Linked DNA regions of Homo sapiens: regions 1, 2, 4 and 5 are each linked to region 3. Evidence: promoter capture Hi-C in human tissues and cell types (Jung and others, 2019). All regions are on one chromosome and are shown on one strand. The core of a region is centred on a gene start or on the middle of the fragment in contact, and the rest is flanking DNA. Distances in the headings are between cores, read along the strand shown.

Region 1 (2,700 bases), core at 116-2,615, 160 kb after region 3:
AGATAGTTTAATGATTTCTGTTCTTGTGTTGCCTGTGGGGATTTCACATTGTGCTCACAGTCACTGGTACTGATTCAATAACAATGGCCTTGCAAAATTGGCAACCTTCCTAAATAAACTATGTAAAATCTGCAAACACTGGTTACTGTGCTATGTGCCTAGTAGATACTCCGGATGCTCTGCCCATATGATATACCCAAAGTATGCTCAAAGTAATTTTCTTTTCGTTTTTCTTTTTTTTTTTTTGAAACAGAGTCTTTTTCTGTCACCTAGGCTGGAGTGCAGTGGCAGGATCTCAGCTCACTGCAACCTCTGCCTCCTGGGTTCAAGCGATTCTCATGCTTCAGCCTCCCGAGTAGCGGGGATTACAGGCGCCCATCACCACACCCGGCTAATTTTTGTATTTTTAGTAGAGACGGGGTTTCACCATGTTGGCCAGGCTGGTCTTGAACTCCTGAACTCAAGTGACCCGCCTGCCTCGGCCTCTGAAAGTGCTGGGATTACAGGCGTGAGCCACCGCACCCAGCTACAATGATACCCTTCTGTTCTCTGAATTTCTAAAGCACAAATTGTACTGTTCATCTGACACTTACCATGCAATAAATTGTGCTCTTATTTATCCCTTCATTGACGTCTTATTTCCTCAACAAACTGAGTATCCTGTCTTCAGGAACCATGTCTTGTACTTCTTTTTTATCTCTTACTTCTTACACAGAATAGATGCAATTTAGGATAATGATGGAAATGACAGAATGTTTACCATCATGCTAGTGTGCCACTCTAATTATTTCTCCTATAATTTGGCTCATATCAAAAGAGCAAAATGAGCAAAAATTTAAGCTACCATATCGTATTTAATCCTCATAGGTATTATAAGTTCCATTTTACTGATGAGGAAAAAGGTTTAGGGTGATTATATAATATGTTCAAAGTCACACAGATAATAAATGATGAACTCTGGAGCTCAGGTCCATTTCATTTCAAACACTGCACTATTACTGTTAGGTACAATAACAAATGGCAAGTAGTTATTCTGAATATGTGACCCAATAAATCTTTTAAGAGTTTTTAAAGAGAATGTTTAAGGAACGGGATACTTTAAGAATTAAGTGTGAGATTTTATTGAGGAGGGAAGGGCATCACAGAGGTAGGATTAACACAATGATAGATATCAAGTCTGTTCAAAGGGACTTCAAAGAGGTTCAGTTTTATTTGTTGTTTGAATCCATTTATTTCACTCATCTCTTAGGAAGAGAGATTTACATTGAGAATTCACATCCTGCCACAGAAACCCCAACTTTTCAAACTAAAGCTCCCCCTAAAAATAGATGAGGCCAGGTGCAATGTCTCATGCCTGTAATCCTAGCACTTTGGGAGGCTGAGGTAGGCAGATCACCTGAGGTCAGGAGTTCAACACCAGCTTTGCCAACATAGCGAAACTCCGCCTCTACTAAAAAAAAACAAAAATTAGCCGGGTGTGGTGGTGGACGCCTGTAATCCCAGCTACTAGGGAGGCTGAGGCAGGAGAATCCCTTGAACCCGGGAGGCGGAGGTTGCAGTGAGCCAAGATCATACCACTGCACTCCAGCCTGGGCGACAGAGTGAGACTCTGTCTCAAAAAAAAAAAAAAAAAAAAAAAAAGGAAAAAAGAGAGATGATACAATTATGGGAAATTAAAACTTTTGATGTTCATGAGAACTGTGTATATTAACATTAAGAGAAAGAGTAACTTAAAAGGGACGTGGGTCAGAGGAGAGTCCTGAAGAAATGGCATCTCCCAAGAGCTCTGTTGTAAGTGATATTTATTTAAAATCAGAGGAAAAAAACTCTCATTCAATTTAGCCCTCATGGAGACTAACTGGTTTTTATGACACAAAATTCAGAGAACAGCAGAGACAAAAATGCACCAATAAGATGCCAAGCTCATAAACCTGACCAGCTTTTTGCTGGGGTGATGAAGTATGCTTAAAGTGTTGCTTAAGTTGCAAACAGATAAAGCCATATGTAGCATAAACTTTTCCGCAGTCACTACAGAAGACAATCAATATAAAGTCCACAATTAGAACGCTCAGGACTTGAAATATCCTGTTATGGATCACGAATATCCATGTAAATTTTGATGGATAAATATTAAGTACAGATGATAAAAGTAACAACCATAACTGGAATTTTTATTGTTATTTCTTGTGAATAATTATCTCACGTGATATCCAAAATGTCCTGAAATGAGGCAGGTACCATCCTCAAACAAACATATACAACAATTTAAATAGTTTAGTTCATTACCAAAAAAAATCAAATAATTCTACTTCTTCTACCCTGGAAACCTAAATTGTTACAACTTTTAAAGAAAGCTTATAATTGGCTAATACTGAGGCTTCTCTTTATTTAGGAGTGATTCAAACCTCTGGATTTTGTAGCTTTACCAAGTGTAACTAAGCCAAATCCCTCGAATTACTAAAAGAGGGGTTATACCCCTCTAAAAATAGATTAATGCAGAAAACACAAGTTGTTAAATTCACACAACATGCAAAAAGGGTGAGCCCAGATTTGCCCTTTGGTGTGCAACAAGAACAATCTATTTATAAATTACTGGCTACACCCTTTCCAAATTACAGGAACACCTAAAAAGGCCTTGATGTTCTTAGCATATTTCTTTAAGGTAAACTTAATTATGTTAGTTATACAGCAACCATCCTG
Region 2 (2,700 bases), core at 7-2,506, 240 kb after region 3:
GAAAGGAAATGAAGCAGTAGTGCTTTAATGCATGACAATGAGAGATGGAGGCTGATCATAAGTCCTGGGCATAACTTTGCATAGTAGAATTTAAATTATTACTACACAGCAACATTACATTTGATTAACGTGCCAGTGGATTTTAATTTTTACTTGTTATATGGAGCTCATAACAGGATAAGCCATAAATTCTGGGTGCCAGAATTGTTTGATATAGTCGTGGCTGCTTTGCAGCTCACCTTTAAGGCATCTAGCAGACCCGGGTGAGGGTCTGCTACTGTTAAAGAAATTTGAGAAGGAAAAAAGCAGTTACATGTAGAAAGAAACCTCCCCCAAAGGACATTGAACACGTCTGCAGACATAACCTATACGCTACTCAGTTCCAAGGCTCTTCACAGTAGCCTGCAGAGATTCAGACTTAAATTGAGGAGGGGAAAGGTAAAAGGATGTGTGTGATAAAAACCTCTTTCTCTCCTGTATTAACTTAGGGCAAATACAGTATTTCCTATATTTTCATCTTTAAGATTACAAATAAGAGACGCTAATCTAGATGTAAGACTCCAAAGAATCCCAGCTTATTTTTAAGTCTAAAGTGAATTTTAAAAATTTTCACTGTAAGATACCAATAAAACAACTTTGACACTTCTTGCCATCTCACTACCAGAATGCAACTGTTTATCTTTTTTTTTTTTTTTTTTTAAGATGGAGTCTTGCTCTTGTTGCTCAAGTGCAATGGTGCGATTTCGGCTCACTGCAACCTCTGCCTCCTGGGTTCAAGTGATTCTTCTGCTTCAGCCTCCTGAATAGCTGGGATTACAGGCATGTGCCACCACGCCCAGCTAAGTTTTTTTTTTTTGTATTTGTGGTAGAGACGGGGTTTCGCCATGTTGGCGAGGCTGTCTCCAACTCCTGGCCTCAGGTGATCTACCAGCCTCGGCCTCCCAAAGTGCTGAGATTACAGGTGTAAGCCACTGTGCTCAGCTGCAACTGTTTATACTTAAGGCCTCTTGTGTGTTTTCATTCTTCTTTTGTTATTTATTTATATATAGTTTTTATGTAGTTGTAATCAGAGCGTATATGTAAGTTTTGCTCATTTTTCAAATTTGGCAAGGAATGGACTATTCTCTTCTTGTGCCGCAACTGTACCTATTATACACATTTTCTCTATTACTGTACTTACCACACTGTATTTCAATCATTTTACTTATAAATCTGTCTTTCTAGGCTTTGAGCATTTGAGGATAAAAGCTATCTTCTGTTTTTTTTGACATGGGGTCTCGCTCTGTTGCCCAGGTGAGGGTGCAGTGGTGCTATCACAGCTCATTGCAGCCTTGAATTCCTGGACTCAAGGGATCCTCCCACCTTAGCCTCCTGAGTAGCTGGAATCACCATACCCAGCTAATTTTTTAAATTTCTGGTAGAGATGGAGTCTCCCTATGCTGCTTAGGCTGATCTTGAAGTCCTGCACCCAAGTGATCCTCCTGCCTTGGCCTCCCAAAGTGCTGGGATTATAGGCGTGAGCCTGGCCCTGTTTTTCCTTTAAGTAATGTTTGAATAAATGAATGATGGCTATAAAATTTTGTTCTACCCATTTGTTTCAAGAAATTTTAAAATTTCTTTCTTAACTGCTTCATTGACCTGCTGGTCATTCAGGAGCATACTGTTTAATTTCCATGTATTTATATAGTTTCCACAGGTCCTCTTGTTACTGATTTCTAGTTTTATTCCATTGTGGTCAGAGAAGATACTTGATTTCAATTTTTTTTGGTTTTCCAGTTTTTTCTTTTCTTTTTTTGAGACAGTCTTACCCTACTGCCCAGGCTGGAGTACAGTGGCATGATCTCAGCTCACTGCAACTTCCCCCAGGTTCAAGCGATCCTTGTGCCTCAGCCTCCCGAGCAGCTGGGATCACAGGTGTGCACCACCACACCCAGATAATTTTTGTGTTTTTAGTAGAGACAGAGTTTTACCATGTTGGCCAGGCTGGTCTTGAACTCCTGGCCTCAGGTGATCCACCTGCCTCGGCCTCCCAAAGTGCTGGGATTACAGGTGTAAGCCACAGAGCCCAGCCATTTTTTTCTTTTACTTTGTTAAGACTGGTTTTGTGGTCTAACATATGGTCTGTTCTTGAGAATGCTCCATATGCTGAGAAAAAATGTGTATTCTGTAGCCATTGGAAGAAATGTTCTGTAAATATCTATTAGTTCCATTTGGTCTATAGTGCAGATTAGGTCTGCTGTTTCTTTGATTTTCTGTCTGGATGATCTTTCCAATATTGAAAGTGGAATGATGAAGTATCCAACTATTATTGTATTGGGGTTCATCTCTCTCTTTCACTCTAATAATATTTGCTTTATATATCTGAGTGCTCCAATGTTGGGTGCATATATATTTACAATTGTTATATCCTCTTGCTGAATTAATTCCTTTATCATTATATAATAGTCCTCTTTGTCTCTATAGTTTTTGTCTTGAAATCTATTTTATCTGATATAAGTATAGCTACCCTTGCTCTTTTTTGGTTTCCATTGGCATGGAATATCTTTTTCCATTCCTTTATCTTTAGTCTATATGTGTCTTTATAGGTGAAGTGTGTTTCTTATAGGCAACAGATCATTAGATCTTGTTTTTTCTCTATTTGGTTATTCTATGTCTTTTGATTGCAGAGTTTAGTCCATTTACATTCAATGTTAATATTGA
Region 3 (2,700 bases), core at 126-2,625:
GATAGCTCCTTTGCTAAAGAAAGAATGGATGTGGGCTAGAGCTTCCTTCCCAGGCCAGCTGCAGAGCCCCGTCACTGGCTGTCCTCCCTCATCAGAAGGGAGCAGCCTCTTGGATCATTACCCCTGACTTCCTCAGCAGGCCTGGGGGGTTTCACTCCAGCCCAGTCCTAACTCTGTTAGGAAAAGGAAGGGAACCACCATGTAAATACAGCCAGGAGACAGGCCAGGAAGCCAGCAGGATACGGGGAATCTCGGCACGGCCTCCCACCCATTTCTGGCCAGACTGGGCTAGGGGACAGGGAGGGGCCCGCACCCAGGATAGCTTGATGCCAAGCTCACTTTCCCAAGCAGGCCTTACCGGTGAACAGGAACAGCAGGGTCCAGCCGAGCTGTTCCCAGTCACCACCAGCAGGCCTGGGGATGCCTCCCGAGAAGACACCCGGGTCTAGACTGGCCCTGAACGCCAGGCCCGGCAAGGAGCGCTAGCCTTAGGAACCCGAGGCAGGGAGTCCTGGGAGTAGCCACCGCTCATCTGCTCCTGAGGAGACGGTATTCAGGCCCCACTGGCGCATCTGCCCGGCCCTCTGCTCCTTGCCCTCCACCACCCCGGCAGGCGTACCGACCACGCGAGCAGCAGGTGCAAGACGCGGGGGTGGCACTGAGATGACATAAAACCACACTCGCCCCCACCTCCCAAGCCCTGACGGCCTCCGCCACGGCCCTCCTGCCACCCCAGGCTGGCGCTTCCGTCGGATACAGAGATGGAGGTGGAGGAGCAGCCAGCTGCCCGCCTCCCTCAGACCGAGGAGCGGGAGGCGGCGCCGGGAACGTCCTTCCTCGCTAGTCCACGGCCTCCAGGGAGCATGGGCACCCCAGGCCGGCCCTCCCGCCAAGGGCGCAGCTCCGCAGTGGCCGAGGCGGGGGCCCAGCCTGGAGGCCGCAGCCCCCCGCCCCGCCCAGCCCTCCGGCCCCGCACAGCGCTCTTGCCAGGCCCCGGCGCCCGCCCGGCGGCGGCCTGGCTGTGCGGTCCCGCCCCCGGCCCCGCCGCGCTTACCCGGGGCGCTGCAGTCCGCACACACCTCCGCTCGCGGCCCCTTTCGGGACATCCTCAGCGGCGACGCGGCCGCAGCCCTCTGGGCCAGCGTGGGGGGCGCGGGCGGCGGGCCCGGGCGGCGGCGGCGGCCCCTGCTGCCCGGCCCGGCTCCGGCGAGGCCCCGGCGAGGCTCCGCGCGCCCGGCCAACCGTCCGCCCCGGGGCTGGCCCGGAACCCGCCGTGCCCGCCTGCCCGCTCGCCCTCGGGCGCCCTCCGCCCCGCGCCGCCCCGCCGCCGCTCGCGGCTCCTCTCTCCGCCCCCTGCGCGGCTCCCGGCCGCTTCTGCAGGAAGCGGCGCAGGCCCTGCCCACAGGGGGAGGGGCCGCACCCCCGCCCCGCCGCGCGCTGCCGGCCGCGCCCCCTAGAGAAAGGAAGCCCGGGCGCGGGCAGGAGGGGGCGGGGGCGCTTAAAGGGGCCGCGGCAGATGCCCGGCCCCGGCGGGCAGCGTGGCCTGCGGCCCTGGCCTCCGCTGCAGCGCTCGCCTGGCCCGGAGGCAATGTGAGTCACCCTCACAGCCCCCTCCCCTTCACTTTCCGCGTGGGGTGGACCGGGGGACGCTGGGCCCACGGACGGCGAGGGTGGGGATTAGGGAAGAAGGACTTGGAGGCCCAAGTCCCGCTCCAGGTCAAAGGGGCTGTGCCTTGGGGTACCCGTCTATCTCTGGTTGGGGTGAGGTGTGCGTCCCTGTCCCGTAGGTGTCCACATCTGTGTGTCCAGGGGTGTGTGTGTATGTGTCACACTCTTGCTGAATACGCCCACTGCTAACAATATGGACGCCCAGGTGCCAGAAAGGTCAGGCAGTGTATTCCCCTGCCTCCGGACTAAAAATATATCTATCTCTCCATGCATCCTTCCATCCAGAGAGGAGAGAATCTGGGCGGTTTTTAAAGACCTCCCGAGGAGTGACCACTGTGCCTGTGTGCACTCACATCCACTTGTCATCCGCCTTACACACACCCACGGTGTTTCTGGGCCACCAGAGGTGTGTGTGTCCAGAAAGGGTGCATATAACATAGAGGGGCCGTTTCAGGTGACGGCCTTTCTTCCTGGACTTCACACGACGAGGCAGGCAAAGGCAAGGCAGGTGAGGGACGTGGGTGGGCTGGGGGGCAGGGAGCCTAGGTAGAGGCCGCACATGAGCGCAGCCCCCGCACTGAGCATGCGCCCCCATACGCGTGTGCCGCGCGTGTACCCAACCCCCAATCCCTGCAGCAGCAAAAGGCCCGGGCACTCTGCTTGTGGGGAGAGGGTAGAGGTCCCCAGGGCCAGACCTGGGGGCCAGGTCAGTGGTGACAATTGAGGAGGGGTTCTCCAAGAGTCAGAGACTCCTGCTTGTTAAGATGGGGGCAGTCCTTTGGCAGGGGTGCTCAAGTTGGTCGATTATCCCAACGGTGCCAGAGCGGCAGTGATTTGTGGGTGGGCAGGCTCCTTCCCTAGGGGAGACAAGTAATGCTCATGAGTCACACCACCCGAAATACATGCAAAGCTGCCTCCATCGCCTTTTGCTGCGGCCCAGATTGACAAGTTTGTTTGAAATCGCGATCCATGGGCTTTATTTATAATTGCACCTTAAAAAAATCTTGCAGGCCTCCCCTCCCTCGACAGCCA
Region 4 (2,700 bases), core at 96-2,595, 180 kb after region 3:
TAGAAAAATAAACAGTAAGTTAATCCCCTGAGTATCAAAAGGAAGAAAACCAACACTTAGAATTACAGAGTAATGCAACATTCTGTCTCCTGTTAATCTGTAAAACACTAGGACAAAACTCTCAAGATAATATCTGAATTTTCACCAAGAGGTATCTTACTACACTTAGTCAATGGCATTCTTTATATAATACAATAAACCAAACTTTGTAAACAAAGGCACTTAAAAGCAATCATGTTTTGCAATCACCATGTGGCTAATTTTTAAAAAAAGAATATCTGACCATAGTTTTAAACACTGGATTAAGCAATGTCACTGAACCTTTATAGTCTTTTCCATGGAACTTTTCCTCCATAAGAGCAATGGAAAACACTGAAAAGATCTGCCTATCAACTCTAGGAGAGGTGATCTCTAAGGCATTCATCCCCCCATAGTCTTAAACACCATATGCTCCTGTAGGAAGAGATGCTGAAATGCTGCTTTCTTCAGGTTACAAAAGCCCCAAACTCTATTGTTTAGTAAAAATAATAGGTATTTACAGATCACTTTTCACATCAAACACACTTTACAAAACATTTAACCATTTAGTCCCCACTTTATCTCTTTAAACGTTTTCTTTTTTCTTTTTTTTTTTTAGACCTCTCAGGGATGAAACATTTTATTTTTTAAACTAGTTTTTTTTTTAAATAACATTAACACATGCTGAATGCTTAAATCTTTTTAGAATTCAGAAAGGTAAAATGAAAGTCACCATTCTCATTCTCATCATCTTACTCCCAGAGATGATTGTTATTAATATTTCCAGAAATTTTGCTTGTATATGCAAACAGCAATATATTGTAGCTGCTCTTTAAGAAGCATACATGCACACACACGCACACACACACACACACACACAGAATTATACATATTATTCTACTTGCATTTCCCCCTACTTATCACTATACCTTAGACATTTTTCCATGTTATTGTAAGTCTCCCTCATTCTTTTAAAGGAGTATAAGGCATTTTATTGTACAATCATATATAATCTATTTAAATAGTCCTTTACTTATGGGCATTTAAGTTGTTTCCAGTCTTTACTATTATATACAATATCACTATGAACATGTGTTTGTATAATTTTTGTTCATGTCATGACAGGGATATTGAAAAAAATATTTGTGCATACATGTGAATATACTTGTTGGATCAACACCTAGAGGTGGAATTGGCAGTTTGAAATATTTTAAACATCTTAGGACCTGGTAGATATTATCAAACTGCCTACCTAAAGAGTTTAGTTTTTTATTTTCCTGTGCATTATTAGTGTCTCCTGCTACTCCATGATCTATTAAATTAACTCAGGGCCCAAGATGCTCTTCTATACCCTGTCTTTTACACATTACATTAAAAGCTAAAAATATATATATTAGAAAAGTAAAATATGTTTATGGGAATAAAGTAGAAAATTTATAAAGAAAAATATTATGAGGAACTATATTATGGATTATTTTTTCCAAAGAACTACTTAGACTATAACAAGATAAATGTAAATTTTTTTTTTTTTTTTTTTTTGAGACAGGGTCTCGCTCTGTCATCCAGACTGGAGTGCAGTGGCACAATCACAGCTCACTGCACTCTTAACCGCCTGGGCTCAAGCAGTTCTCCTGGCTCAACTTCCAAGTAGCTGGGACTGCAGGCATGTAACACCACACCTGTCGAGACGAAGTCTTGCCATGTTGCCCAGGCTGGTTTCAAACTTCTGGGCTCAAGCGATCCTCCTGCCTTGGCCTCCCAAAGTGTGGAGACTACAGGTATGAATCATCATGCCTGGCTGGTAAATGTAATTATTAAGCTACTTTGAAGATAATACAATTTTAAATTCAGAAAATTTTAAAATTATTTACTTCTAATTTAGGAATATATTGGAGCTTTTCTATAAATTCAGAAGATATTTTGAGATCTGTTCAATGATAATGCTGTAGAACTTATTAACATTATAGGTGAATGAACCTAATGTGGCCTAATACCATCAGTGTCCTAGAATGTAGTAAGACAGAGATAGAAAAATGGGAAGTGATTTTGGGAGTAACAAAGAATGGAGGCTAAAAGAGCCAAGAAGGTTTTGAAAATAAAATAACTGAAATTTTTGAGCTGACATTCAGTGTGTGTCAGGTGCTCTATTAAGAGTTTACATGGCCAGGTGTGGTGGCTCACACCTGTAATCCTAGCACTTTGGGAGGCAGAGGCAGGAGGATCCCTTGACTCCAGGAATTCGAGACCAGCCTAGGCAACATAGGGAGACCCTATCTCTGTAAAAAATAAAAAATAATAAAAAAATAGAGTTTACATGCACTATCTCAATTCTTATAAACAATCCTATGATTCTATTATTATCTCTATGAGGCTCAGAGAGGTTAAATAATTTGCCTAAGCTTATACAGCAGTATTTCAAATCCAGCCAGTTATTCTGGCTCCAGAACCTTCTTTCTTAAACAGTATTCTATATTGTCTCCATGATGATGGAGGTTCATTACAGGTTTAAACTGAAAAGGTCTATTGCCAACAGGGAGAAAGAACTCTTGGGGACCTTAAATACCTACCTGACTGCATCTGGTATTTTCTTCTCTACTTGATCCTACTTATGCCTAGCAGGTTCTGACAATAATAGGGACATAACCTGGTACTAAATATAGCAGTAAGATGATCTTTTGGCTG
Region 5 (2,700 bases), core at 56-2,555, 200 kb before region 3:
CTGATCAACATGCTCCTTCCTTGGAGCACAGATCTACTATGGCCAGCCTGGTCTCGAACTCCTGACCTCAGGTGATCCGCCCGTCTCAGCCTCCCAAAGTGCTATAATTACAGGCGTGAGCCACCGGGCCCGGCCCAGAGTTAATTTTTATTCATGAAACTCATATAACAGGTTTATTTATTTCAGTCGTTTTGTTGGTTAAAGAACCAAGATTTTTTATGACTACACTTTGTGTACACTTTTAGGTTCTCTCTTTTTTTTTTTTTTTTTTGAGACGAGTCTCATTCTGTCGCCCAGGCTGGAGTGCAGTGGCGCAATCTCGGCTCACTGCAACCTCCGCCTCCCGGGTTCACGCCATTCTCCTGCCTCAGCCTCCCGAGTAGCTAGCTGGGACTACAGGCGCCCACCACCACGCCCGGCTAATTTTTTTCTATCTTTTAATAGAGACGGGGTTTCACCGTGTTAGCCAGGATGCTCTCGATCTCCTGACCTCGTGATCCGCCCGCCTCGGCCTCCCAAAGTGCTGGGATTACAGGCGTGAGCCACCGCGCCCGGCCTTACACTTTTAGGTTCTTGAATAAGTACTGAGGGAGTTTTCCCTAAAAAAAAAAAAAAAAGTTTTGAGATAAAAGAATAAAAACTCTACTTCTTCTTTGCATAGGAGTCTTTAGTTTGTTTGCTGCTCTTGTTCCAAAACTTCTCATTACTCAACCTACTAAACCCACAGACACTTTTCAAGAAGTTATCTCTTTTCTACATCACCAATATATAGGGTGGCTTAGATCTGTATTTCCAAGTCTTACTGTCGTTCCAAGAATTAGTATCAACTATTAGAATCTCAAAAACTCAACTGCATACTGATTGCGCTGCCCAGTGTACCTCTGAATCCCACGGGGGAGGGGGTGTAGAACCGAGTTGTGCAGGAATGGGATATTCCACACTTCAGGGCAAACTTATTCGCAGGATCAGTGGCGGGCTTTGGAGGTGGGAAGCAGGAAGGAAGGGGAATGCAGATAAACTCTTCTTCTTCAGATCTCCGGGGTGAAATGAATGCACCTGACGCCCGCGTGGCATTAGAAGCTCCGCGAACTCAGTGAGGCCATGCTGGACAGAGGCTGGAACTCCGGGCCACCGGGACAACTCTGCCCGTAGCAAGCCTTGCGCGCTCCTGTGAGGGCGCGCGCGCGCGCATGTAGTCGTGTCTCGCGCAGGGTCCGGCCTGTCAGGCGGAAAATCTCGCGAGATCGGAGACGGGGGATGACGGTCTGGAGGAGGGGAGTGGTGTCGGGTAAAGGGGGGGAAGCTGGGCAGCGGCCGGGCTCTGTGGCTTCAGGGCTCGGGGAGAGAGAGGGAGGGTGGCAAAGAGACTGAGTCGGTGCCGCCGCCTGCCTGAGGAGAGAGGAGGGGTCCCGCTCGCCCTGCGCCCTTCGCGGGCCGAAAGCACTAGGCACTCGCGAACATCTGAGGCCTCCCGGCCCCGGGGGACCCCGCCCCGCCGTCCGCCGGCCGGCCCGCGGCCTCTCTTCCCTTTGTGAGCGCCTCCTTACCAGGGGTGGTGTTGGTGGCGGAGGGCTGCGCGTGGGCCCGCCCGCCGAGGGGCCGCGGCGGGGGACCGAGAGGGCCTCGGCTGTGTGAGGACTAGAGGCGGCCGAGGCCCGGGCCGGTTCCCCCGAGGCGGCGACGGAGACGGCTCCCGGCACTTCCCCGCGCCATCTTAACTGAGCCCAAGCGCTGAGGGCGCCTCCTCGACCCCGGTCGTCCCCTCGCCCCCCCCCCCACCCCCCGCCGCCGCCGCCCCTTGTTGCAGAGCTTGGGCTGGGCGGCTTGCTGGGGCTCGGGGGTGGGGGGCGGCGATCTGTCGCCGGGCCCCCTCCTCCTCCTCACTCCTCACCCTCCAGGGTAGCGGCTACCGGAGCGCTGCAGGGGGCTGCGCCTGCCTGCTCCGCCCCAGACCTGTCGGCGAAAGGGTAAGGGCACCTCTGCTTTGGGAAAGGGGGATATAGAGGGGGGCGGGGAAATTCGGCCCACTCGGGCCTGTGTGTGGAAGAAGGGATGTGGGAGTGGGGTGGGGGAGGGAGAAAAGGAGGGTCTGTGATTCTGTGGGTGGGGTGAAGAAGCTGGTGAGCTGGGCGCCCTCCGGTTTTAAGGGGCGAGAGCAATTCCATTCCTTTTTCCTGAGGGTCACCGGAAGGGGTGGTGGAAGGGGGATGTTTCGAGGAAGGTGTGGCCCTCACAGGGAGACTGGGTTGATGTGCACCCCGGTTTAAAGGCGCGAGGTCCCCTTCCCCTCTGGTGCCTTTGCTCCTCTTCTCCTTTGTAGTGTCTGTGTATTCTTGGGAAGGGAGACTGCTCTGGGTGGCTTGCTGGGTGGATTCCACCCCCTAGCACAGGAAATCTATACCCCTCTTCTGTAGGGGCGATGGAAGCGTTTCTCTCCCCGTACCCTTCCCCCTTCCCCATCCTCTAGTCTACTGCAATGCTGCAGAAGTCCAAGGCAGTTTCTTCATACACAGACCCATGTATACACAGAAGGGAGGGGGAGCAGGAGAGGGAAGTAATGGCGCTTCCCTTGAAAAGGTTACTCTTTTTCCTTTGGTTTTAAATCGACGACAGTATCGTTTTAATACTCTTCCCCTGAGATCTGTCCATGGGAAGTGTATCTGTTCTGGTGTTATTGTTGGGGGATATGGCCTCTCGAGA

The links. The method cuts DNA at HindIII sites, captures the fragments that hold promoters and counts their contacts. A contact is called where the count stands out against the background at its distance.
Region 1: a fragment that was not itself captured here is called in contact with the fragment with the promoter of GIT1 in region 3 in 1 of the 25 tissues and cell types used here (lymphoblastoid cells).
Region 2: a contact is called between a fragment that was not itself captured here and the fragment with the promoter of GIT1 in region 3, in 1 of the 25 tissues and cell types used here (spleen).
Region 4: a contact is called between a fragment that was not itself captured here and the fragment with the promoter of GIT1 in region 3, in 3 of the 25 tissues and cell types used here (lymphoblastoid cells, spleen and thymus).
Region 5: the fragment with the promoter of TAOK1 here is called in contact with the fragment with the promoter of GIT1 in region 3 in 2 of the 25 tissues and cell types used here (IMR-90 fibroblasts and dorsolateral prefrontal cortex).

The regions. Positions count from the first base shown.
Region 1 is chr17:29,744,932-29,747,631 of GRCh38, forward strand. All of the region lies in intron 3 of SSH2 (slingshot protein phosphatase 2), which reads right to left. Among named protein-coding and RNA genes, the nearest start is that of SSH2-AS1, 110 kb to the left of the region's middle. The HindIII fragment of the contact is 3,441 bases long and covers 1-2,700 here.
Region 2 is chr17:29,830,896-29,833,595 of GRCh38, forward strand. All of the region lies in intron 2 of SSH2 (slingshot protein phosphatase 2), which reads right to left. The region is part of intron 1 of LOC124900390 (a long non-coding RNA gene); the gene reads right to left. Among named protein-coding and RNA genes, the nearest start is that of SSH2, 98 kb to the right of the region's middle. The HindIII fragment of the contact is 5,151 bases long and covers 1-2,700 here.
Region 3 is chr17:29,588,273-29,590,972 of GRCh38, forward strand. It overlaps GIT1 (GIT ArfGAP 1), which reads right to left and starts at 1,376. Exons shown (of 20, transcript NM_014030.4): 1 at 1,055-1,376. The coding sequence starts at 1,106. RefSeq lists enhancers at 1-557, 1,457-2,356 and silencers at 775-964, 1,225-1,704. The HindIII fragment of the contact is 8,209 bases long and covers 1-2,700 here.
Region 4 is chr17:29,766,754-29,769,453 of GRCh38, forward strand. All of the region lies in intron 3 of SSH2 (slingshot protein phosphatase 2), which reads right to left. Among named protein-coding and RNA genes, the nearest start is that of SSH2-AS1, 130 kb to the left of the region's middle. The HindIII fragment of the contact is 5,686 bases long and covers 1-2,700 here.
Region 5 is chr17:29,389,058-29,391,757 of GRCh38, forward strand. TAOK1 (TAO kinase 1) reads left to right here and starts at 1,306. Exons shown (of 20, transcript NM_020791.4): 1 at 1,306-1,967. It overlaps MIR4523 (microRNA 4523), which reads left to right and starts at 1,605; the gene lies at 1,605-1,673. RefSeq lists enhancers at 862-1,101, 1,222-1,311, 2,472-2,700 and a silencer at 1,352-1,821. The HindIII fragment of the contact is 18,861 bases long and covers 1-2,700 here.